7 separate regions of the Homo sapiens genome follow, and all the other regions are linked to region 4. Evidence: promoter capture Hi-C in 16 types of primary human blood cells and fetal thymus (Javierre and others, 2016). All regions are on one chromosome and are shown on one strand. Each heading gives the region's core, a stretch centred on a gene start or on the middle of the fragment in contact. The rest is flanking DNA. Distances are from core to core; before and after follow the strand shown.

What was found. The method cuts DNA at HindIII sites, captures the fragments that hold promoters and counts their contacts. A CHiCAGO score of 5 or more calls a contact.
Region 1: a contact is called between a fragment that was not itself captured here and the fragment with the promoter of SELENOS in region 4, in 6 of 17 cell types (M1 macrophages, M0 macrophages, megakaryocytes and 3 more). The highest score is 8.1, in M1 macrophages.
Region 2: a fragment that was not itself captured here is called in contact with the fragment with the promoter of SELENOS in region 4 in 1 of 17 cell types (M0 macrophages); the score reaches 5.5 in M0 macrophages.
Region 3: a fragment that was not itself captured here is called in contact with the fragment with the promoter of SELENOS in region 4 in 1 of 17 cell types (monocytes); the score reaches 5.5 in monocytes.
Region 5: a contact is called between a fragment that was not itself captured here and the fragment with the promoter of SELENOS in region 4, in 8 of 17 cell types (M1 macrophages, M0 macrophages, endothelial precursors and 5 more). The highest score is 12.9, in M1 macrophages.
Region 6: a fragment that was not itself captured here is called in contact with the fragment with the promoter of SELENOS in region 4 in 6 of 17 cell types (total B cells, erythroblasts, activated CD4 T cells and 3 more); the score reaches 6.9 in total B cells.
Region 7: a contact is called between a fragment that was not itself captured here and the fragment with the promoter of SELENOS in region 4, in 7 of 17 cell types (total CD8 T cells, activated CD4 T cells, total B cells and 4 more). The highest score is 8.4, in total CD8 T cells.

Annotation. Positions count from the first base shown.
Region 1 is chr15:101,067,211-101,069,710 of GRCh38, reverse strand. LRRK1 (leucine rich repeat kinase 1) reads right to left here. Exons shown (of 34, transcript NM_024652.6): 34 at 1-1,040. The coding sequence ends at 863. The region is part of intron 1 of LRRK1-AS1 (LRRK1 antisense RNA 1); the gene reads left to right. Among named protein-coding and RNA genes, the nearest start is that of LRRK1-AS1, 83 kb to the left of the region's middle. RefSeq lists enhancers at 1-181, 182-847, 1,512-2,177. The HindIII fragment of the contact is 4,126 bases long and covers 1-2,500 here.
Region 2 is chr15:101,512,936-101,516,393 of GRCh38, reverse strand. No RefSeq gene overlaps it. Among named protein-coding and RNA genes, the nearest start is that of PCSK6, 25 kb to the right of the region's middle. The HindIII fragment of the contact is 2,780 bases long and covers 436-3,215 here.
Region 3 is chr15:101,456,661-101,460,154 of GRCh38, reverse strand. All of the region lies in intron 1 of PCSK6 (proprotein convertase subtilisin/kexin type 6), which reads left to right. Among named protein-coding and RNA genes, the nearest start is that of PCSK6, 31 kb to the left of the region's middle. RefSeq lists a silencer at 3,361-3,494. The HindIII fragment of the contact is 6,142 bases long and covers 1-3,494 here.
Region 4 is chr15:101,275,599-101,278,797 of GRCh38, reverse strand. It overlaps SELENOS (selenoprotein S), which reads left to right and starts at 1,313. Exons shown (of 6, transcript NM_018445.6): 1 at 1,313-1,456; 2 at 2,123-2,257. The coding sequence starts at 1,381. RefSeq lists a silencer at 1,108-1,437. The HindIII fragment of the contact is 1,843 bases long and covers 356-2,198 here.
Region 5 is chr15:101,038,756-101,042,303 of GRCh38, reverse strand. The region is part of intron 20 of LRRK1 (leucine rich repeat kinase 1); the gene reads right to left. It also overlaps a transcript of LRRK1-AS1 not described here. Among named protein-coding and RNA genes, the nearest start is that of LRRK1-AS1, 110 kb to the left of the region's middle. The HindIII fragment of the contact is 823 bases long and covers 1,704-2,526 here.
Region 6 is chr15:101,094,145-101,097,485 of GRCh38, reverse strand. The region is part of intron 1 of LRRK1-AS1 (LRRK1 antisense RNA 1); the gene reads left to right. Among named protein-coding and RNA genes, the nearest start is that of LRRK1-AS1, 56 kb to the left of the region's middle. The HindIII fragment of the contact is 2,400 bases long and covers 129-2,528 here.
Region 7 is chr15:101,124,703-101,128,195 of GRCh38, reverse strand. All of the region lies in intron 1 of LRRK1-AS1 (LRRK1 antisense RNA 1), which reads left to right. Among named protein-coding and RNA genes, the nearest start is that of LRRK1-AS1, 25 kb to the left of the region's middle. RefSeq lists enhancers at 171-340, 551-660, 951-1,000 and a silencer at 1,291-1,340. The HindIII fragment of the contact is 1,094 bases long and covers 709-1,802 here.

The DNA.
Region 1 (2,500 bases), core at 1-2,500, 210 kb after region 4:
AGATATTACTGAATTTTTTAAAGTGATAAACAAGATTATTATGTGCAAACAAACAGGGCCTGTGCTCCAGCTGCGTCCAAATTTACTTGACAAAGCTATAAACACAAGGCCCTTTCTGAAGTCCTGCTGATTGAGTTTCCCCTTCCTTTTGTCGGTGGAGAGGAATGTAAAGGCTAAGCGGGTGCACTCGGACTGTGTGCCTCTGGGCTTGCTGGCGGTGGCACTTAAAGGAACTCATTCATTCTCTGGATGGGGCAACACTCCTCACCCGGGATCCCCCAAGGGCTTTCCCACACGGAGACCTTCCCGAACACAGAGACATCTGATCTTGGCTTGCCCAAGCTGGCCCAGGCCTCGGGGACTCAGGAGCCTGTGGAATGTGCTGAGAGCCTGAGGTCTCTGGCGGGGAAAGGGCAGGGGTCACAGCCCCCCTCCTGCCCTACCTCAAGTGCTTCCCAGCGGAGGGCCTCTAGTGTAATTCCATCTGAGACCTGGGGATGGCAGGAAGGCCCGGCCCTGCTTTGTTTGACCCAGCTCAGAACAGGATCCTGCACCCCTGCTCCTGCAAACTGATGGGGGAGGCCAGAGGAGGCCGCTCCCAGCCTGATACCACTGTCTTCCCTGGGGCTGTAAAATCAGCAGTTGGGGGATGGGGTATTCAGAGAACTCTGCTCCAGAGAACCAGAGAACCCTGGAGCCACCGCCAGGCGAGTAACTTCTCAGCACTTCTTAGCAGCAAGGAGTTCAGGGGAGAACTCCATCTGTCTTCTAGGTCCTTGGAGAACTAGAGGCCGATGGCAGAGGGGTCAGGCTGCAGCCCCGGGCCAGCCAGCTCTGATGTGTGACAGTCATTCCACAGGAATTACCTTCTCTTGCGAGTGCAAGCCTCCAGCCGGCCCAGCTCCTCGTAGGACTGGTAGAAAATGTCGAACTCCCTGGCGCCCCAGCCCCTCCAGACGGCCAGGCACCACTCTGTGTTTTCATTTTCAAAGGTGCACACAACAGTGTCCTTTGCCACCACGGCAGCATCCACCAGCACCCTGCAGAGAGAAGGGGGTCTGAGGAAACTCACAGGGGTTCCCACTCGGGTGGGGTTGGGACCCTCCCCCTGTGCCTTCTGAGGAAGGCGGAGCTGGCTAAGGGCAGGGGAGTGTGTCTGCTTGCCAGCCCTCTCTGGGGTGTGCTGAGATGCACCACTTCTCCCCAGTGGCCAGCCTGTGGGCTTAGGCTTTATAAAGTCCAAAGACGGGCTGTGGGCATGAGTTCGCGTCCATGGGCTTTGTCTGTAAGAGTCAGACTCCCTGGAAGGCCACAGAGGCAATCAGATCATGCATCCTTGACTCAGCTCCCAAAGCGTCCAGAAAACACCACTGACCCAAATTTCTGCTTGTGAATGGCTCATGACCGAGTTTAACTCAACTCCCTTGCCACTAAGCTCAGTAAGATTCTTCTCTCATTCTGTTTCTACAGGCTTAGGAAATACAGGATCATATATTAAATGGAAAACCTACTGCCCCAAAGTCATCACTATATACATTTTTTGAAACTGTGGACAGTTTTGCAGGATCGGTGGGTGTGTGCTACAGGTTTCCTTTTGGGCCACAGTGTGGCCTCCCTGCCCTGGTGGTGCCCCACCCCAAGCACATACTAATTGCCTTTCCTCCCTCTGTGTCCCGTGTGTGCGGCCTGCGTGGCACTGAGGTGCTCCTGCAAACTGGGATGTCCAGGGACCTCTCACTCCGCGTGGCCTTGCCAGGACCTCCCCTTAGGGGAGGAGCCTCCCTCTAGCGAGAAAGAGGTAAAATCTGGCTTTAGGGATGAATAGGAGAAAAACAACAGCTAAACGTTAGGACATTAATGGCAGGTATGCCAAGGTCCTAACCTGGGTGCTGCACACCCATTTCCTCCAGAAGCCCGACCTGCAAGCTGGGAACTCCATCAGTTCAAGGCTTCTACCCACAGGCTCTGCCAGAGCTCAGGAGCAGATCCAGATCTTGCTTCCAGAACCACTTACAGAGTAAGGGTCACTGGCCCAGGACTCACTGCAAAAGTTCAAAGCTGGCAGGCAAGGGAGTGCGACTGCCAAGGATGTCCTTGTCATTGTCCTGCTTTGGGAGAAGCAAGCTGACTGGTGTTTCTCCACCCTCTTATGCTCCAGATGAAATAAAAACCCACTTGCCCAGGGATGGGGGATAACTCATGCTGCAGGGAAACAGGCCTAGTGTGAAATGGAAGAGCTCCAAAGTACACACACACACACACACACACACACACACACACACACACACATTTGAACTGAGGACTTTTCGTAGGGGAGATTTACCGTGTGGGGCTCGGTAGTCAAAGTGCGGGGTGTAAACACTGTGGGGAGCTGCAGCTGGCGCCAGCCTCACATCACTGCAACCATGTAGACCATGTCCCGGACAGGCCACCCTGCCCAGCATACCTTCACAGAGGAGACTGGCATAATCCTGGGGGTCCCCACCCACAGACAGGTACT
Region 2 (3,458 bases), core at 576-3,075, 240 kb before region 4:
TCTGACCACAGTGGAAGTAAATTAAAGGTTAGTATTGCAAAAGTATCTGAATATCCCCCCAAATATTTGGAATTTAAGTAATACGTTTAAAAATAATTCATGGATCAGAAAGAAATCAAAAGAGAACTAAATCGAAAGAGAACTAAATCAAAATGAAAATTCAGCCTACCAAAATGCGTGGGATGCAGCTAAAGCAGTATGCAGAGGAAAATATATAGTCCTACAGGCTCATATTAGAAAAAAAGAAAGGTTTTATATATGCAACTTCAGTTTCTAACATAAGAAAAAATAGGAGCAAATTAAACTATTAAACTTAAAGCAGAAGAAAGGAAACAAGGTAAGAGTATAAATAAATAAAATAGAAAACAGAAATACAATATAAAAATCAAGGAAACCAACTTTACTATTTGATAAAATCATTAAAATTGATAAGCTTCTTGACAGGAAAATCAGAAAAAAGAGAGAAGATACAAACTATCAACAAGAATGAGATGTGACATCATTACAGACTCTACAGATATGAAAAGGAAGATAAGAAAATATTATAGATAACATTATGCCAATAAATTCAGCAACTTAGACAGATTTCTTGAATGACACAAGCTATCAAAGCTCACCCAAAAAGAAATCAAGATCCATAAAAAGGAATAAAGTTTGGATACATGCCGCAACGTGGATAAACCTTGAAAACTTTATGCTAAGTAAGCCAGACACAAAAGGACAAATATGGTATGGTTCCAATTATATGAGGTACCTAGAATAGACAAATTTATACAGAGGAACAGAGGTCACTAGGGGCTGGGAGGAGGGAGATATTGTTTAATGAATACAGAATTTCTGTTTGGAATAATTTTTTTAAGTTCTGGGAATAGTGGTAATGAACATTGTGAATGTACTTAATGTCACTGAATTATACACTTAAATGGTAATTTTGTGTTAAGAATATCTTATCACAATAAAAAAATCTGAATAGGCCTATATCTATTAAAAAATAAAATTTGCAAGTAAAAACCTTTCCTGAAAGAAAACTCCAGCTCTACATGACTTTCCTAGTGAATTCTACCATACATTTTAGGGAATAAATAATACCAGCTCCACACAAACTCTTTCAGGAAATCAAAGAGGACAGAATACCAACTCATTCTATGGAGCCAGGATTACCCTGTTACCAAAATCAGAAAAAGACAAGCAAATACCTGTCATGAGCATAGATGCAAAATTTCTTAATGAAACTTAACAAGCTGAATCTAACAAGAAATAGAGTGAAAATACTTCATTACCAAGTAGGGTTTAACCCAGAAATGCAAGATTGGTTTAACATTTGAAAATCAATTGATGTGGCCAGGGACAGTGGCTCAAGCCTGTAATTCCAGCACTTTGGGAGGCTGAGGTGGTAGGATCACTTGAGCCTAGGAGTTTGAGACCAGCCTTGGCAACATAGCGACACCTCGTCTCTACCAAAAATTAAAAAAAAAAAAAATTGACTGGGTGTGGAGGCTTGTGCCTGTAGTCCCAGCTACTCAGGAGGCTGAGGTGAAATGATTGCTTGAACCTGGGAGGTCAAGGCTGCAGTGAGCCATGATCACAGCGCTGCACTCCAGTCTGGGAGACAGAGTGAGACCCTGTCTCAAAAAAAAAAAAAAAGAAAGAAAAAGAAAAAGAATTAATCATATTAGCAAACTACAAAAGAAAAATCACTTGACCATCTCCATAGATGTAGGAAAAGTATTTAACAAAATCCGACTTTAATTCCTGATAAAAACTCTCAGCAAACTAGAACATCATACTTCATGGTGAAAACAGACTGTTCGAAACCACAAGAAGATAGCACTGCACACCTAGAAGAGTGGCGCAGATCCAGGGCACTGACGCCACCAAACACTGCCGAGGATGCAGAGCAAGAGGACCTCGCTCACTGCTGGTGGAAATGCAAAACGGTACAGCCATTTTGGAAGGTAATTTGGCAGTTTCTTACAAACTAACCACATTCTTACCACATAATTCAGCAATTTCACTTCTGGGCAGGTACTCAAATGAGCTGAAAATACTTATGCTGATATAAAAACCTGTGCACAAGTTCATAGCGGCTTTATTCATAATTCCCAAGTTAGAAGCAACCAAGACGTCCCTCGGTAGGTGAATGGACAAATAAACTGTGGTACATTATACAATGGAATATTATTCAGCACTAAAAAGAAATGAGTTACCAAGCTATCAGAACCTCTTTTTTTTTTTTTTTTTTTTTTGACAGCGTCTCACTCTGTCACCCCACTGGAGTGCAGTGGTGCAATCATGGCTTTTTGCAGCCTTGAATTCCTAAGCTCAAGCAGTCCTCCCACCTCGGCCTCCTGAGTAGTTGCAACTACAGACACGGGCCGCCATGCCCAGCTAATCTTATTTATTTATTTATTTATTTATTTATTTATTTAGAAATGGGGTCTTGCTATGTTGCCTGGCCTGGTCTCAAACTCCTGGTCTCATGTGACTCTCCTGCCTCAACCTCCTGAGTAGCTGGGATGACAGATGCAAGCCACCACACCTGACCGAAGGAAACTTGGATGCATGTTACCAAGTGAAAGAAGACGATCTGGAAAAGCTGCATACTGTATGATTCTAAATATATGACATTCTGGAAAAAGCAAAACTATGGAGACCGTCAAAAAGATCAGTGGTTGCCAGCAGTTCGGGGAGAGAGGGACGAATATGAGAAAAGAGGATTTTTAGGATGGTGAAGCTACTCTGTATGATTTTATAATGATAGATACACGTCATCATACACATGTCTAAGCCCACAGAATGTACAGGGGTGAATCCTAATGTAAACTATGGACTTTCGGTGATAATGATGTGTCAATGCAGGTTCATGGATTGTGACAAATGTACCACCATGGTGGGGGCTGTTGATAATGGAGGAGACTGTGTGTGGTGTGGGGGCAGGTATATGGGTAGTCTCTATATTTTCTGCTCAATTTTGTCTGTGAACCAAAAACTTCCTAAAAAATAAGTCTATTTTTTTAAAAAAGGAAAAGCAGCAACCATGTTTCAGTACATTGTGTTGTATCAAATAAAGTCACCACTCCCTCACAAGATTTCTTTTATGATTACGACTTTGTACCTCTAATAAAAATGATCTTTTGAATGAAAAAAAAACTTGAATGCTTTTCTTCTAAGATTAGAAGCACACTAGGGTGTCTTCTTCTGTGTGAATAGAAGCTTCTGTGCTTCTTTTATTCAGCCTTGTCCTGAAAGTTCTAGACCATTAAATAAAGCAAGAAAAAGATAGATGGGAAAAAGGAAGAAAAGTTGTATCCAAATGGAAATAAAGAAGAAAAACTGTCTTCATTTGCAGACATGATCGTCTATGTAGAAAATCCTGAGAGAACCTACAAAATAAACTACTAGAACTAAGAAGTAAGTACAACAAGTTTGTAAGATATAAGATTAGCACACAGCAGAAA
Region 3 (3,494 bases), core at 167-2,666, 180 kb before region 4:
GGCCATCGTGGGGGGTCTTCCTGGGCAGGAGAGGGACCTGTGTGACGGTTCATAGGGGCATAGTGGTGGCCATGTGGCTGTGTGGGGAGGAGGCCCTCAGTTCAGTGTGGGGCCTGGGATAGTGGGTGGCAAACATCAGATGGAATTTCACAGAACCTAACGCACATCTCTCTCCCTCGAGGTGAATTTTTCTTTACAGACCTGTGAATCTAAGAGATGATGTAACGCCTGAACTCATTTTATAACATCAGAAGTTTGCGACTTAAAAATGTTTCAGAAGGTGGGGGCGTGGGCTGTCTAGGGTTCTAAGGAGAACGTGGTTGAAACAGCTGCCTAAAGGGACTGAGGGTGTTGGAGGACCCGGTGGCAGGCGCATGGATGGAGGACCAGGAACCACCAAGGTCACCATGGGTGGGAGGCATCAGGGTGAGGGAGGGGTGTTGGTGAGGGGCCCAGCTGGAGCTGTGTTCATAGTTGCTGGGATGGAGGGGACAGGGCAGGATTCAGGGTGTCAGCAGAGTCAGTTACCTGGGAGGCGTGGCACAATGGTGATGGAGGAGGGGGAGCCCAATGATAGTGCAGTGAGGAATGGTGGGGGGGACGGGAATGGTGGCAGCTGGTGGTGTGGACTTAGGGTGGGGGGACGGGAACGGTGGCAGCGGGTGGTGTGGACTTAGGGTGGGGGGACGGGAATGGTGGCAGCAGGTGATGTGGACTTAGGGAGAGGAGACGCGGAGCAAGCCGGGAGAACTGGGTGGGCCTGGATTTGTCCTTTCCTGGTAGGATTACTGTGGCCACAGAATTTATTGTGCAACCAGGATGTTTCTAGGAAGTAAAAGGGAGAGCCTGGACACTTACAGCTGGGCAACAGGATGGAGGAAGCCAGCACACACATGATTCCCTGTGCAGGCACGTAGGGGCTTTCAGCTAAGCCAAGGGTGTGTGAGGAAGCACCAAAGGTGCAGAGGAGTTTCTCCCTTGTTTTGGCTTCAAAATAGATGTTTGTATATAATAGGGATTCCCAAGGGCTCAGTGGGCGGAGCTAGCAGTGAGGCTGGGAGAGGAGAGGTGGCCTGGAGAGGGTTTCTCTTCTGTCCGGAAGCCTTTCTCCCTTGGCTGAGAGAAGCTACACACACGCCACTTCTCTCTGAACACGTGGCTCGTGAACCACAGTCCTACAGCTGTCAGTAGTAAAATCCAGGCCCATCCAGCATGCTTGCGGGATGTCGGGGTGGTTAAATGAAATGGAAGGCAGTTTGTTTTTTCCAAGTGAGATGGATGTGAAGGAATTAGGTAGAAGCTGACAGAGGTATACCCAAAACTGCTAAATTTAGCCTGGATTCAAGAAAGAGGTTAGAGAGGTGGCATTGTGAGTAATTAGACGCGTCGCAGAGAGCGTGAATGATTGACAGAGTTTGTGTCTGTGGTTGCCGCTGGGGAGAAACAGAGCAGAGTGGGAGTCTTCGGAAGGAGCGAGGAGCCAATCTGCTGGGTATGTGGAGCCTTTGGGACCGTCAGTCGCGCTTCGGGTGCTGGGGTCTGTTTGCGCTGGAGAAGATACACATGGTGAAAGGGAGAGTGAGGCACAGTCCCTGGAGACAGACGATGGTCTGTAAATGGTGAGCAAACAACAGTCAGGAGCCTTGCTGGAGTCTGTACCAAGGGCCCTCCTAAGAAGCCGGGTCCTGTGGGGGTCCAGTGACTGTGTACAGCCCGGGGGTCCAGTGACTGTGTATAGCCCGGGCCACATTGCCCAGCTCGGGTCTCTACGGCATTTGGGTTTATGCCTCAGCTCAAAGCCTTGCGGAAACCCCTTTCAACATGTGCGCTGTCTGCTGCAGAGACTCAAACCCACTGGGGCAAAGCGAACACACAGCACTGGAGTTGGGTTTCACGTCCCTATCACCACGACCTGTGCCCACCAACCTAGAAATAGTTGGGTGAACTTGCTGGTTGTTTGCTGAGATAGTGCACATGGCAGTCACATAGGTCTTTACTGTGTCTTGCCTGATAGCCCAGCATGAGTAGAACAGCCATGGAGACCTCTGAGAGAGCAGGACGAATGTGTCTGACCATGTTGTTGCAAGCCACCTAAAACGTGGCTGGACCCAGCTCCACCTCTGGAGGGACGTACCACGGGCAACCATCTGTGAGGGTATTGCAGACACCAGATGTCAGCGCTGGTAGGGGGTAAGCAAACATCAGATGGAATGTGAGCATAAGAGATGACATAAGGCCAGAATGTGTTTTACAAAATCAGAAGTTTTGGACTTAAAAAATGTTTCAGTCTGGAATTGGACAGATAGCGCAGGCTCATTTTATGGATAAGAAATAAGTTAGTTTCAAGAAAATGGATTGCCAGACACGAATGGTATTGCACACCCAGAGGGGTGGCCAGGGCTGCCTGTGTGTGGGCTGTCCCCGGCACAGCTCCTCGGCTCCCCTCTGCCCTGCACCCTGTACTGTTCACCTTGGCCCTGTATGGCTCCGTCTAGGTGGGATTATCTTCCCCACAGGGGCCACTGATAAAGAAGCACTCTATATATTTTTAAGAATTGAAATCAAAGGGCAAATGGGATTTCTCTAACTTTGCAACTAGCTTTATTGCAATGCACTTCCCCCCACAAAGGGAGCTGCATCCTTGTTCTTTTCTTTAAGAAATACTATGAAAAAACCCAGCTGACCAGCCTGCGCCCTGGGAGGCTGGGGCTGCTCTCTGTGTGCCAGGCCGTGAGCCGAGCATTCCATATGCATCACGCCTCATTTATCCCCCTAGAAACCTTGGGCAAGGAAATGCTGCTAATCCCAATGCATGGAAAGGGAAGCTGAAGAGAAATTTAGGAACTTGCTCAGAGATCCTTTTCACTTAAACAGAGGAGTTGGGATTCAGATCTGGGTAGTCCTTGGCTCCAAGGCCCAAGACCTCAACTGCTGAGTTGAGATTTTTATTTATTTATTTATTTTTATTTATTTATTTATTTTTGAGATGGAATCTCACTCTGTTGCTCAGGCTGGAGTGCGGTGGCACGATCTTGGCTCACTGCAACCTCCGCCTCCTGGTTCAAGTGATTCTCCTGCCTCAGCCTCCCAAGTAGCTGGGATTACAGGTGTGCACCACCACACCCAGCTAATTTTTTATATTTTTGGTAGAGACGGGGTTTCACCATGTTGGCCAGGCTAGTCTCGAAATCCCGACCCCAGGTGATCTGCTTGGCCTCCCAAAGTGCTGGGATTACAGGCATGAGCCACTGTGCCCAGCCCAAGCTGAGATCTTGATACTCCCTCTGGAGTGTCCTTGGTCATGCAAGGCAAGGCCTGGGGTCCCTTCATTGCTACCTCCTTGCCTCCCTTTGACCCTCACCTTGTGTATTCCCCCTTTCTCTCCCCGGCTCCATCTTGCCTCGAAAGACGAGTAGAGAAGATGTTCCCTCCACTGCTAGGACTCCAGCTTCTAAGAATGTGGGTCCCTGTTTTTATCCAGGGGTGCATCTGGC
Region 4 (3,199 bases), core at 64-2,563:
CTGAGAATTGCAACTAATTCCATAGAAGTCATTCAATTTAGCACATAAATGTTCCTGCAAGATGCCAGAGCAAGTGAGAAATCATCTGTAGCAAAGCAAAGAGTGGTGATGGTTCATCACCTTTTACAACGGAAAGGCAAACATGAAGAAGGAAATTCTCCCTCCTAAAATTCCTCATTAAATCGATAAGCTATCTTCACAGCCTTTATGGATAACATCCAGAGTCCTCGGTTCATCTGAGGAGTCCATTTTCAAGGTGGCCAACAGGGAAGAAGAGCTTTCAGGCTTCTCTTTGCTATGGCTCATGAATGCCAGGTCCCCTTTATTGCTTTCTGAACACACTGCTGGGAAAGCTTGATGAGGTCAGTGCTCAAATCCCTGCAGCTGTCCCCCTTGAGGAACTTCTTGGCAAACCTGCATTGAAGAAACACTGATTGCGTTCACGCTTCATGTCATGGTTTGCCTTCCCCACACTGCTCCTGGCGACAGTGGTGACGCAGCACTCGGATGTTGTCACCTATTCATTATTTTTTCAGTTCTATTCCCAATTCCCAACCCTTCTTTTGAAACACAGCTAGGTATGTGCACTTCAAATGCTCCAGAAAAACCCAAGGTCACATTTCAAATAGGATGGTTATGGTCACCATAAAGGTGGTGACGTTTGAGTGGTGGAAGAGGGTGCGGGACGGCGTTGCAGGCAGAGGAACACAGCCAGGACACTATTATAAGTAACTCTGTGATCGTGTCTTGTGGTGATACAGTATAATTCAACACAGGTTAGAGCAGTTACTATGATCGTTCTTTCCTAAAAGGCTTTGATTTTGGAGAAAGAACCTTGAGGATCGGTGGGGACTTTCTTGGCCTGAAAGGTATCACCAGCAGCAGGAGCAGGAGGCTGCTCACATTTCGTGTCTTCACTTGGGGTGGACGTTGGCTGCAACCCTCAAATGCTGGGAGTCGTCAACCAACTGAGCCCTGTTGTCCAATGTGCCCCGGGCAAGGATGTGGGTGCAAATCCTGCTTCCGGGCGACCACTGACTTCCTTGGCTTCAGTGTCCAATTAGAAAAAAAAAAGAAAGTAGAAATTCGGTAAGAAATCCGTGAACGAGGTCCGTCCTCCACCCCCGACTCAAGCCAAGAGATAGCACAGAACGTTCCCACACGCGCTGTCCCGGCCCCGGCGAGCGTAGCCGGGATTTCTCCCCCGCCACGCCCCTCGGCCACGCCCCCCTGCGTTTGGCCCAGCGACGGGGCGGGGTCGGCCTGCGATTGGCCGGGACCACGACCGCGTCCGGGCGCGCCACGTGTGCGTAGGAGCGCACCGGAAGCGCCCGGCTGGAGGCGCGGCGGCAGGGCTGGGCGGCGGCGGCGGCGGCGGTCATGGAACGCCAAGAGGAGTCTCTGTCCGCGCGGCCGGCCCTGGAGACCGAGGGGCTGCGCTTCCTGCACACCACGGGTGAGTCGTTGCGGGGCAGCCGGGCGCGCGCCGCCACTTTTGCGACGCGCAGCCATGATGGGTGGGTCGTCCGCCGCTGCACCGGGCGCCGGAGCCTGGGAGGCCTGGGAACGGTCGGGCGTTGGCGCTTACGCGGACCTTGGGCAGCAGGCCCGGACCTTGCGCGGAGGCTTCTCGGGAGCCGCACTTCCCTGGGCGGCTCGGCTGTCCCTTGTTTGCGCAAGTCTTTTTTGCGAACCAAGCCCTTCCTGTGGTAGTTACTGGGGTCACTCGGCCGTTGGCGTTTGCCTCTGGGACCCGTCCCACACAGCCCCATACACACTCCTGACTCCCCGCGCTGTCACCCCTTTCTATGTGGCTCTGAAAGGCCTTTGCCTTCCTGATTCAGATTAGTTGCTCTTCATTCTTCAAAACCCAGTTGCTGTGCCCTCCACACTCTAACTGCCCCCGACTCCCCAGATGGTTGGGAAGTCTCACTTCTCAGTGATCCCTGAATTGTCGCACTTCTTGAGTTCGTGTTTTAACGATCTACTTAGGAGGCTTTTTCCTCAGCCTAGACCATGAAGGCTTTGAGGGCAGGAGTTACACTTTGTGTTTGTTGAGTCTTATGGAAAGGTCAACTAGTAGTGTCATTTTTAGTTTTTTGAAAACTGTTTTTCTTTTCAGTGGGCTCCCTGCTGGCCACCTATGGCTGGTACATCGTCTTCAGCTGCATCCTTCTCTACGTGGTCTTTCAGAAGCTTTCCGCCCGGCTAAGAGCCTTGAGGCAGAGGCAGCTGGACCGAGCTGCGGCTGCTGTGGGTTAGTGCCTGATAACCGAAATGAAAGCGGTGGTTTTGCACCTCCTTTATATTAAGAGTTAGTCTCTTAGTAAAAGTAAGAGGGGCCACACAGGAAGACCCTGTCTCTATTTAAAAAAAAAAAAAATAGCCGGGAGTGGCGGCACGCACCTGTAGTCCCAGCTGCTCAGGAGGCTGAGGCGGGATAATCACTTGAGTCCAGGGAGTCAAAGCTGCAGTGGGCTATGCTCGGGCCACACTACACTCCAGCCTGGGCAATTGATTGAGACCTTGTCTTTAAAAAAAAAAAAAAAAAAAAAGTAGGAAGTATATGGTTCTCGGTGGGGCGCGGTGGCTCACACCTGTAATCCCAGCACTTTGGGAAGCCGAGGCAGGAGGATGACTTGAGGTCAGGGGTTCGAGAACAGCCTGGCCAACATGGTGAAACCCTGTCTCTACTAAAAATACAAATATTAGTGGGGCGTGGTGACGGGCACCTGTAATCCCAGCTATTAGGGTGGCTGAGGCAGGAGAAATCGCTTGAACCTGGGAGCTGGAGATTGCAGTGAGCTGAGATTGTGCCACTGCACTCCAGCCTGGGCAACAGAGTGAGACTGTCTTTTCTTTCTTTTTTTTTTTTTTTTCTATGAGATGGAGTCTAGCCTTGTTGCAAAGAGCGAGACTCTATGAGTAGACGTTATGAATAGAAATGAGTTCATTTCTATTCATAATGCTATTTGGAAGGATTTTTCTTTTCTGTAGAAACAAATACTTAAGAATCTTCTGCGCTAATTAAGGGATGGATAATGATTTAGAAAACTTTATATTTCCTTGGTAGTCTTCCAGGATTCTAGTCAGCCTAGAGACTGTGGGTGTCACTGAGGTATCCAAGATGTGCTCTGTGTGGCCACTATCCCAGGCTTTATGAATCGGAATTGCTCAGGGGAACTCAGAAATTGGCATT
Region 5 (3,548 bases), core at 866-3,365, 240 kb after region 4:
ATTCTACATCGAAGAAAATTATCCAGCAAAAAATTAGAGTGTTAATAAAGACATTTTCATATAAACAAAAGTCTTGTCTAAAAAAGAGAATTTGTTTCCATCAGACTTAGACTTTAAGACATGCTACACGTAATTCTTCAGGATGAAAAGAGATTATACCAGATGGAAAGAAGTGAAGAGCACCAGAAACAATCAACATTTTTCCCTTAATTTCTTAAAAGACTATTGATTGTTTAATTATTCAAAGCAAAAGTAATAACACTATATTATGGGGTTCATTACATATATTGTAGTCCTCCCTTATCTGCAGTTTCTTTTTCATGGTTTCAATTACTGGTCCAAAAATATCAAGATATTTAGAAAGAGAGAGAGAGAGACCACATTTATGTAACTTCTGTGACAGTATATCATAATTATACTGTTTTGTTGTTATTGTTGTTAATTTCTATGTGTTGTTAATCACTTACTGGTTTACAATTAAACTTCATCATAGGTATGTAGATAAAGGAAAAGGCATAGTATATGTAGGGCTCAATACTATCGCAGTTTTAGGCATCCACGGGGGTCTGGAAATCCACCAGCTGTGGATAAGGGGGACTACTGTATAGAAGAAACGTGGATGACAGCAAGAGTACAGAGGGTGCTGGGAGGAGTAATGTCCTGGTATCGTGCTAAGGTTTTTGCATTTAATTCAAGGTGGTATAATATTAATTACAAGTAGATTGTGATAAGGTAAGGATGCATATTCTAATCCCAAGAGTAACCACTAAAACACAGTACCAGGAAGAATGGCCAAAAACCCAACAGAGAGCATGAAAATACTAAAATAAAATTTAACTCAAAAGAAGGCAGGAAAGAATGAACAAAATAACAAAATCAGATGGTATAAATACAAAATAAATAGAGAAATAGTAGGCTTAAACCCAACCATATAATTAATTATGATAAATGTGAATGAATCAAATATTCCTATTAAAAGGCAGAGATTATCAGATTGGATAATGTGCTGTCAGCAAGAGATTCCTTTTTTATAGAGATCATAACCTGCTACTAGAAGAATAGGGAAAAAACCCAGGTAGAACTAAAAGAGCTGGTGTGGCTATTTTAACATCAGACAAAATAGACTTCAAGAAAAGGAGTATTACCAGTGATAAAGAGAAACATTGTATAATGAAAAAAGGGTCACTTCATTACACAGGCATGACACCAATGTGTATATGTAACCAATAATGGCTTCAAAATATATAAAATAAAGCCTGTCAGAACTGGAGAGAGAGGTAGACTTATCATTAGATATTTTACCATCTCTCTCTTAGTAATTGATAGAATGAGTAGGAAAAAAATCAGTGAGAATACGGAAGATTTGAACACGTTGTTTACCACTCTGAGCTAATTAAGGTTTATAAGATACTACAGCCACAACACAGAAAACTCGTTTCTTGTGTGCACTCCAGACTTTCACTGGGAAAGATCACACATTGGCCCATAAAATAAGTCTCAGTGAATTTCAAAATACAGAAATCTTAGAATATATTCTCTGACCAAAATAATATAAGATATATTAGAAAATCTTTCGAACTAAATGATAAAAACACAACATAGCAAAATTAGTTGTATTTGTCATATAAAGCAGTGCTTAGAAAGTTATGGCTTTAAATGCTTACATAGAAAATAGGAAAGGCTTAAAATAAATGACCTAAGCTTCTACCTTAAGAAGGAAGAACAAGAAGCACAAATTAAACCCAAAGTTAGCTGAAGGAAGACAATAATAAAGAGCAGTAATAGATGAAATAAAAGAGAAAAATAATAGAAGAAATCAGCAATGGCAACGGTTCGTTCTTTAAAACGGTTCCAAAAATTTGATAAACACTTAGCAAGACTGATCAAGAAAGAATGAGAGAAAAGACATATTATTAATATCAGGAGAGAGAGCATATCACTACACATTCCAGAGATATTTTAAATATCTTTATATTAATATATTCTGCACCATAGATGAAATGAAAAAATTTATTGAAAAAAAAATAACTTACCAAAACTGACACAAGAATAGAAAATTTTAATAACCCTATAGCTAATAAATAGATTGAATTTGTAATTAAAAATCCTCTTGTGAAGTAAACTCCAGGCTATAAATTCTATCAAACTGTTAAGGAAGGTCTAACACCAATCTTATACAAAATCTTGAAGAAAATAGAGAAGGAAAAAAATCTTTTCAATTCATTTTATGAAGACAGCCTATGTCTGATAACCCATAAAGACTTTTCATCAAAGTACCAACCAATATCCCTCATGAACATAGATTAAAAAATTCTTATGCAAAATAGGAGCCACTGAAATCTAGCATTAGATAAAAAAGATAATAAATCATGAACACTTGGTATGAATCTTGGGAATACAAAGTTGGTTTAACATTTGAAAATCCATCAACATATTTAACAGAAAAATAACTGAAGAAAAAAATTAACAGAGGCAGAACAAGCATTTTTGGGGGACAAAATTCAGTACCCATTTATGATAAAAGCTTTTAGCAAACTGGGAATAAAAGGGAACTTCCTCAATCTGATAAAGTTTCCATGGATAACAAAGCTCTGCAGAAAACATCACACTTGATGGTGAAAGACTGAATGCTTCCCCCCTGAGATCACACAGAATGACGCCTTCTCTCATCCCTTCTATTTAAACCTTCGCTAGAGATCCGAGCCAATGCAATCAGGCAAACAGAGCAAAAAAATATGTGAAGATTAGAATGAAAAAAGTAAAACTGTCTTTTTTTCAAAAAAGAAGCATACTTAGAAAATCCTGAAAAATCTACTGGAGCTAATAGGTGAATTTAGCAAGGTTTTTTGATATAAGGTAAATATTTAAAAATAAATTATATTTCTGTATACCAGCAACAAGAAATGGAAATCAAATTAGAAGATATGTCATTTACCCATATCGGAGAACATAAATTATGTAGACACAAATTTAACAAAAGATGCAGAAAATCTGAATACTGAAAACAAACCACCGTGGAGAGAAACTTTTTAAAAACCAAAATAAATGAGAGATATACCATGTTCATATTGGAAGATTCAATATTTCTAAGATGTCAGCTTTCTTTGATCTATAGATTCAATGTAATCTCCATAAAAATCACAACGGTTTTTTAAGAATCAGACAAGCTGATTCTAAAATTTAGATGAAAATGCAAAGGATCTAGAATAATCCAAAATAATCTTGAAACAGAAGAACAAAATTGGAGGGTGTCATATGCTGAATAATGAGCCCCAAAATATCCAGGTCCTAAACCCTAGAACTGTGATTGTTACCTTACATGGAAATAGAGACTTTGTAGATGTGATTAAGTTATGGACTTTGAAATGGGGGAAAGATCCCACATTATCTGGGTGGACCTTAAGTGCAGCCACAAGTGTGCTTAAAAGATGGGGGAAGAGAGAGATTTGCACAGAAGAAGGCAAGATGGCCACTGGCGCAGGGTGCCATGCTGCTGGGAGGGACGGCTTCAAGATGGCTGACTAGAGGCATTTCAGACTTGCCTCTGA
Region 6 (3,341 bases), core at 79-2,578, 180 kb after region 4:
CTGTAGTCATCCTACAGTACTATAGAATAGGGTCCCCAACCCCCCGGCCACAGACTGGTCCTGGTCTGTGGCCTGTTAGGAACCGGGCTGCACAGCGGAAGGTGAGAGGCAGTGGAGCGAGCGAAGCTTCATCTGTATTTACAGCTGCTCCCCATCACTCACATGACCGCCTGAGCTCCACCTCCCGTCAGATCAGCAGCGGTGTTAGATTCTCATAGGAGCACAAACCCTATCGTGAACCGCGCAGGTGAGGGATCTAGGGTGCACGCTCCTTATGAGAATCTAATGCCTGATGATCCGTCACTGTCTCCCATCACCCCCAGAAGGGACCGTCTAGTTGCAGGAAAACAAGCTCAGGGCTCCCACTGATTCTACAATATGATGAGTTGTATAAATATTTCATCACATAGTCCCATGTAATAATAATAGAAATAAGTGCACAATAATTGAAATGCGCTTGAATCATCCCAAAACTATACCTCCAACTCTGGGGGATGCGGAAAAATGGTCTTCCACAAAACCAGTGCCTGGTGCCAAAAAAGGCTGGGGAGGGCTGCTCTAGAACGCTAGAACTCATTCCTCTTAGCCAGCTGTAATTTTGTATCCATTAACCAACTTCTCCCCATCCTCCCTCTCCTCCTACCCTTCCCTGCCTCTGGTAACCACTTTCCTGTTTTCTTCTTCCATGAGACCCACTGTTTCAGCTTCCACATGTGGGCGAGACCGTGTGGTATTTGTCTTTCTGTGCCAGGCTCATCCACGACAGAATTTCATTCTTGTTTTTTCTGTTATCAAATTGCTCAGTAAGGCGACTTTCCTGTTTACCTAACCTTCCTTTGGCGGTGCATGAGAGGTGAAATTTCTGTACACCCTCACTAACATTTGATATTATTAGTCTTTCAAAATGTTCACAATCAGGTGGGCAAAAAGTGGTGCCTTTAGTAACTAGGTTTCATAGGCTTCATCTGTAGATGGGATCTTTGCTGTGGGTCTTTGCTTCATCTGTAGATGGGATCTTTGCTGTGGGTCTTTGCTTCATCAGCAGATGGGATCTTTGCTGTGGGTCTTTGCTTCATCAGCAGATGGGATCTTTGCTGTGGGTCTTTGCTTCATCAGCAGATGGGATCTTTGCTGTGGGTCTTGGCTTCATCAGTAGATGGGATCTTTGCTGTGGGTCTTTGCTTCATCTGTAGATGGGATCTTTGCTGTGGGTCTTGGCTTCATCAGTAGATGGGATCTTTGCTGTGGGTCTTGGCTTCTTCGGTAGATGGGATCTTTGCTGTGGGTCTTTGCTTCATCGGTAGATGGGATCTTTGCTGTGGGTCTTTGCTTCATCAGCAGATGGGATCTTTGCTGTGGGTCTTTGCTTCATCAGTAGATGGGATCTTTGCTGTGGGTCTTGGCTTCATCAGTAGATGGGATCTTTGCTGTGGGTCTTGGATTCATCAGTAGATGGGATCTTTGTTGTGGGTCTTTGCTTCATCGGTAGATGGGATCTTTGCTGTGGGTCTTGGCTTCATCGGTAGATGGGATCTTTGCTGTGGGTCTTTGCTTCATCGGTAGATGGGATCTTTGCTGTGGGTCTTTGCTTCATCGGCAGATGGGATCTTTGCTGTGGGTCTTTGCTTCATCAGTAGATGGGATCTTTGCTGTGGGTCTTGGCTTCATCAGTAGATGGGATCTTTGCTGTGGGTCTTGGCTTCATCAGTAGATGGGATCTTTGCTGTGGGTCTGCAGAAAATGCCCTAATCAAGTGAAGGAAACAACAGCTAAAATGTTCTCTTCTCCTACTCTGCCTCTATCTATTGAGAGGTTCGGGTCATCTAGTTTTTCCTACTCTACTAAGCTAACGTAGTGAGTCTTACTGTCAAGCAAGTCTTGCTTACCTGGGATTAAATGCTACTTGGTCATGATGGGTTATTCCTTTACTATGCTACTTGATTTGATTTGCTAATATATTAAAATATTTGCATACATGATCATTAGTGTGCTCTCTTTTCGTTTTGGAATTAACCTTATATTATCCTGCAAAATACGTTAATTCACTTTCTAGATTGTTGTATGCTCCAAAGTAGTTTACCTAACATGATAATTACCTATCTTTGAAGGTTAAGCAAAAAGTGTCCCGGGTGCTGTGGCTCACGCCTGTAATCTCAGCACTTTGGGAGGCGAAGGTGGGTGGATCATGAGGCCAGGAGTTCAAGACCAGGCCGGTCAAGATGGTGAAACCCTGTCTCTACTAAAAATACAAAACAATTAGCCAGGCTTGGCAGCAGGCGCCTGTAATCCCAGCTACTTGGGAGGCTGAGGCAGAGAATTGCTTGAACCTGGGAGGTGGAGGTTGCAGTGAGCCAAGATCATTCCACTGTACTCCAGCCTGGGCAACAGAGCAAGACTCCATCTCAAATAAATAAATAAATAAAAGTCTATAAAAACAGCTGGGCCCAGGCATTTAAAAAAATGTTCGGTCTTCTAGTTTAGTCTTTTATTGTCTATGCAAATTCTTTGGCTATTGAACTATCCAAGCTTTCTCTTTTTAAGCTTTTGGGGAATAGGTTGCAATACATTTCTTGTCTACTGTTTCTCTTAGTGTTTTCTAATTCTAACCCACTGTTTTTGGAATTTCTATTAGATGGTTTTGCAACTTCTGCATCTATCCTCCATGCACCTTCACATTTCCTTCACAGTTTTCGTGCTGTTTTCCTTGTGTGCTACATTCTGAACAGGACTTTGGCTTCAAACTCCAGAAACTTGCTCTTCAGGGGGCTCCACTTTTCTCCTTGGCTTTCTTGAGTTTTCCTTTTAACAATCATATGTTTAACAATCATATGTTAAGGTCTTTAGTTGGTTCCTTTTTTTTTTTAACAGTGGCCTGATCTTTATTTCTCCAAATACATTAATAGACTTTTTTTTTTTTTTTTGAGATAGGGTCTCACTCTCTTGCCTAGGCTGGAGTGCAGTGGTGCAATCTCAGCTCATTGCAACCTCCACCTCCCAGGTTCAAGTGATTCTCATGCCTCAGCCTTCCAAGTAGCTAGGATTACAGGTGTCCCCACTATGCCTGGCTAAATTGTGTATTTTTAGGAGAGACAGGGTTTCACCATGTTGGCCAGGCTGGCCTCGAATTCCTAGCCTCAAGTGATCTACCCACCTCGGCCTCCCAAAGTGCCGGGATTACAGGTGTGAGCCACCATGCCCGACCAACATACTTCTTTTAAAATCTCCATTTCTTTGTAATAAGAACTCACTTTCTTTAGGTGGTTTAGCTGTTGAGTTTGGTGACTCTCTCTCGCTGTGGGTTTTCCTCAGCTGTTTGTAGTGTCTTCGTTAAGCGCTCATCT
Region 7 (3,493 bases), core at 6-2,505, 150 kb after region 4:
AAAAAACAACACAAAACAAAAGCAACCCGGCTGTTAGTGCTTGCTGATTTCCATGGTGTAAATATATCCACTGTGGTCAATTTCAATCTTGCTATCCCCTGGTGTCCCTGGACCTGGAATTGGAATTGCCGTGCACCGTTGGCTGTCACTAGGCTGAGCCAGCTCCAGCACATCCATAGTCCTGCCAATTCTTCGCACACCACTATGATTCAGAGGCCAAGACTCTCCTCCTGCTGCTTTTGGCCGTTTCTGCTGGCGAGCAAAGTTGTGGTGGTTGTTTTTCCTGTGGCAGCGTTCCAGGGTCCATTCAGTCCCTTTGTGGGGTCAAGAGGCAGGTATGGTACAGCACTGGGAGCCTCCCGACCCCCACCTGGCTGAGTGGAGTCAGGCTAGCAGAGCCCAGCCGGCTGGTCCCCAGGCCTTTTTCCGGGCACCACGCCAATAGGCCTGGCCCATGCCTCTCAATAAAACGGTAAGCCCCTAATTTCCTGTCTAAACCCCTTTTTGCTTAAAATTGTTAGAGTGGTTTCTGTTTCCTGTAACTAAACCCTGGCTGATGTAAAGTGGAACCTGAAACTGCATTTTTTTTTTTTTAAAGCAGATGTACGTTTTCCTTAGGCTTGTCTCCTAATCTGTCTGTGCAGAAGGATTTTAATGCGTTGTGAGGCCTGGGAGGACAATAATGAGTAAATTGGCACTCATTAAGCTTTGTAAATCTGAGAACTCTGGAGACAAAGCATCTGAGTGAGCTGAGAAGGGTGAGACCCACTTCTAGGGTCTGTGAGGCCCTGTCCTCTTAGCACTCCTTCTGCCAGGCCCCGGCAAGGCTGTCTGTGTTCACCAGGCAGAGGCTAGGCTGTAGGATGCTGGCGTTAGTTAGGGAGAAACTGGATTTTCTTAGATCCACAGAATCAGACACAAGTCATGAGACTATGTCATTTAGTTTGCAACTCCAAATGCTTTTGAGGCTGAGTTAACTGTGGGACGTCTCTTTGGATTTACTCTCAGGCAGGGCTCCTCCCTGGGGAGCAAACTACTCCTGAGGTGAGATGGGGGAGAACAGATGTGTACCAGTGATCCCAGCAGCCTAGGGAGGAGGCCCGACTTGCAGAGGCATTCTTTCAGCTCATTAAAGAGCACCCTCTTTGATAAAGGCAATTACCTCTTGGGAAAGAAGCCTGTTAGCAGCCCTCAGAACCTGGGTGTGAATGAATTTCCAGGTTCTTTCCAAGCTGAGAGCAGGTAGGTACTGCGAGGATGAGGCACAGCCTGGGTAAGTCTGGCAGCCGGAACTGTGGGGAGTAGACCCACCCACGGTCACTAATAAGAGGGGCTAGTCGGGACTGTGCCCTGAGAAGTGGGAGCTGAGCCCTGCAGAACCAGCTTCTAGGCTCTGTCCCCTCCTGCTGGCCCTTGGATAAGCCTCTCTGGGCCCCCTGCTTTCTCATCTGTCAAATGGGGATTATATTACCTAGCCTCATAATGTTCTCCTGCGGTGGGTAAAATGGAATCTTCAAAGCGCTAGGGAAATAGAAAGTGAGGGCGGGGTAGTGGGAGCTGTGGGCCTGGGTTCAGGCAGCGAGGTGACACACTGTCACTGAAGTCACAATAATAAAATCTACTAAGTCAGACGACTGGTGTTTTTGTTGCTGTTGTTTGTTTTTCTAATTACCAGGCATGATTAAATACTCCTGCCAGGGAAAATATTTTGTTGATCTAAATTCTAAACAATTGTGAGGGTTTATGTATATATATATATACTTCAAATCAACATGATTTTATTTATTATCCTTTGATAAGCTTTGTATTCCAAGTGAAAGTTAATTTCAGAACTCCCAGGTATAAAGTCGGTCCAGAAATGTGCTTTTCAAAAGTAAGTTGTGAGCCGTCTGAAGCCACTTTGGACATCATTCACGTCTCCAGTGCCCCAGGGTGCTGTGAATTCCTACATTTAAACAGCAGATTTGACGAAGCAACAATAGCACAGTGATCGGAAAGAGGAAGATTCGGAACTTAAGTTACTTCAATTCTGTATTCTGTGTGACCATTGAAGTCTTGTTTGTGTTTAACATTTAAAACAGTATAAGAGGCCAGGAGCGGTGGCTCATGCCTGCCGGTAATCCCAGCACTTTGGAAGGCCGAAGTGGGCGGATCACAAGGTCAGGAGTTCAAGACCAGCCAGACCAACATGGTGAAACCCTGTCTCTACTAAAAATACAAAAAATTAGCTGGGCGTGGTGGCAGCCGCCTGTAATCCCAGCTACTCGGGAGTCTGAGGCAGGAGAATCCCTTGAACTCAGGAGGCAGAGGTTGCAGTGAGCCGAGATCGCGCCACTGCACTCCAGCCTGGGTGACAGTGTGAGACTCAGTCTCAAAAACAAACTAACAACCCCAAAAAACAGTACAAGAGCACAAACTGCAAGGTGAGGGGACATTTTAGTTCATATATGAAATATTTTACTACATTGGAATGATATATTTAAAATTGGAAACATGTTCTTTTTAAATTATTAATTTAAAACTAAGGAACAAATCAAGAAAATTAAATATTAGAGAAAATATAGTAGTTGCCCAAGTTTTATCTTTTGCAGATGTTTTGTCTCATTTACTGAAATATAATTGATATACCATAAAATTCACTGTTTTAAAGTATACAATTCAGTGTTTGCTTTTTCTTTTTCCTTTAACCGTACTCACAAGGTTGTACAGCTTTCACTGCTATCTAATTCTAGAATATCTTTGTCACCTGAAAAATAAACCCCATACCACGAGCAGTCACTCTTCACTTCCCTCAGCCCTGGGCAGCCACTAGTCTATGTCTTCATGGATTTGCCTATTCTCAGAATTTAATAGAAGTGAAATCATATAATAGGTGACTTCTGCATTTGGTTTCTTTCCCTTAGCGTAATGTTTTCAAGGTTCTTCCATATTGTAGCATGTCAGAATTCCCTTCCTTTTGCTTTCCTTCCTGAATCATATTCCCTTGTATGGCTATACCAGATTTTCTTCTCCATTCGTCAGCTGCTAGGCATTTGGGTTATTGTCACCTTTTGGCCATTGTGAATCATGCTCCCATGAAGATTCATGTAGAAGATTTTGTGTGAATGGAGGTTTTCATTTTTCCTGGGCATAGACCTACGAGTGGAATTGCTGGTCATGTGGAAACTATGTTTAACGTTTTGAACAACCGCCAAGGGATTCGTCCTTTTGTGAGTGTATATCCAGTCCCAGCAATTTCTCCACATCCTCACTAACGCTTAGCTGCCCTTTAAAAATTAGAGTCATTCTAGTAGGTGTGAAATGGTCTCTCACTGCGGTTCCTTTTTTTTTTTTTTTTTTTCCCAGAGACAGAGTTCTGCTCTGTCACCCAGGCTGGTGTGCAGTGGTGCAATCTTGGCTCATTGCAATCCCCCCACTCCCAGGTTCAAGCGATTCTCCTGCCTCAACCTCCTGAGTAGCTTGGACTACAGGCACCTGCCACCACATTCAACTA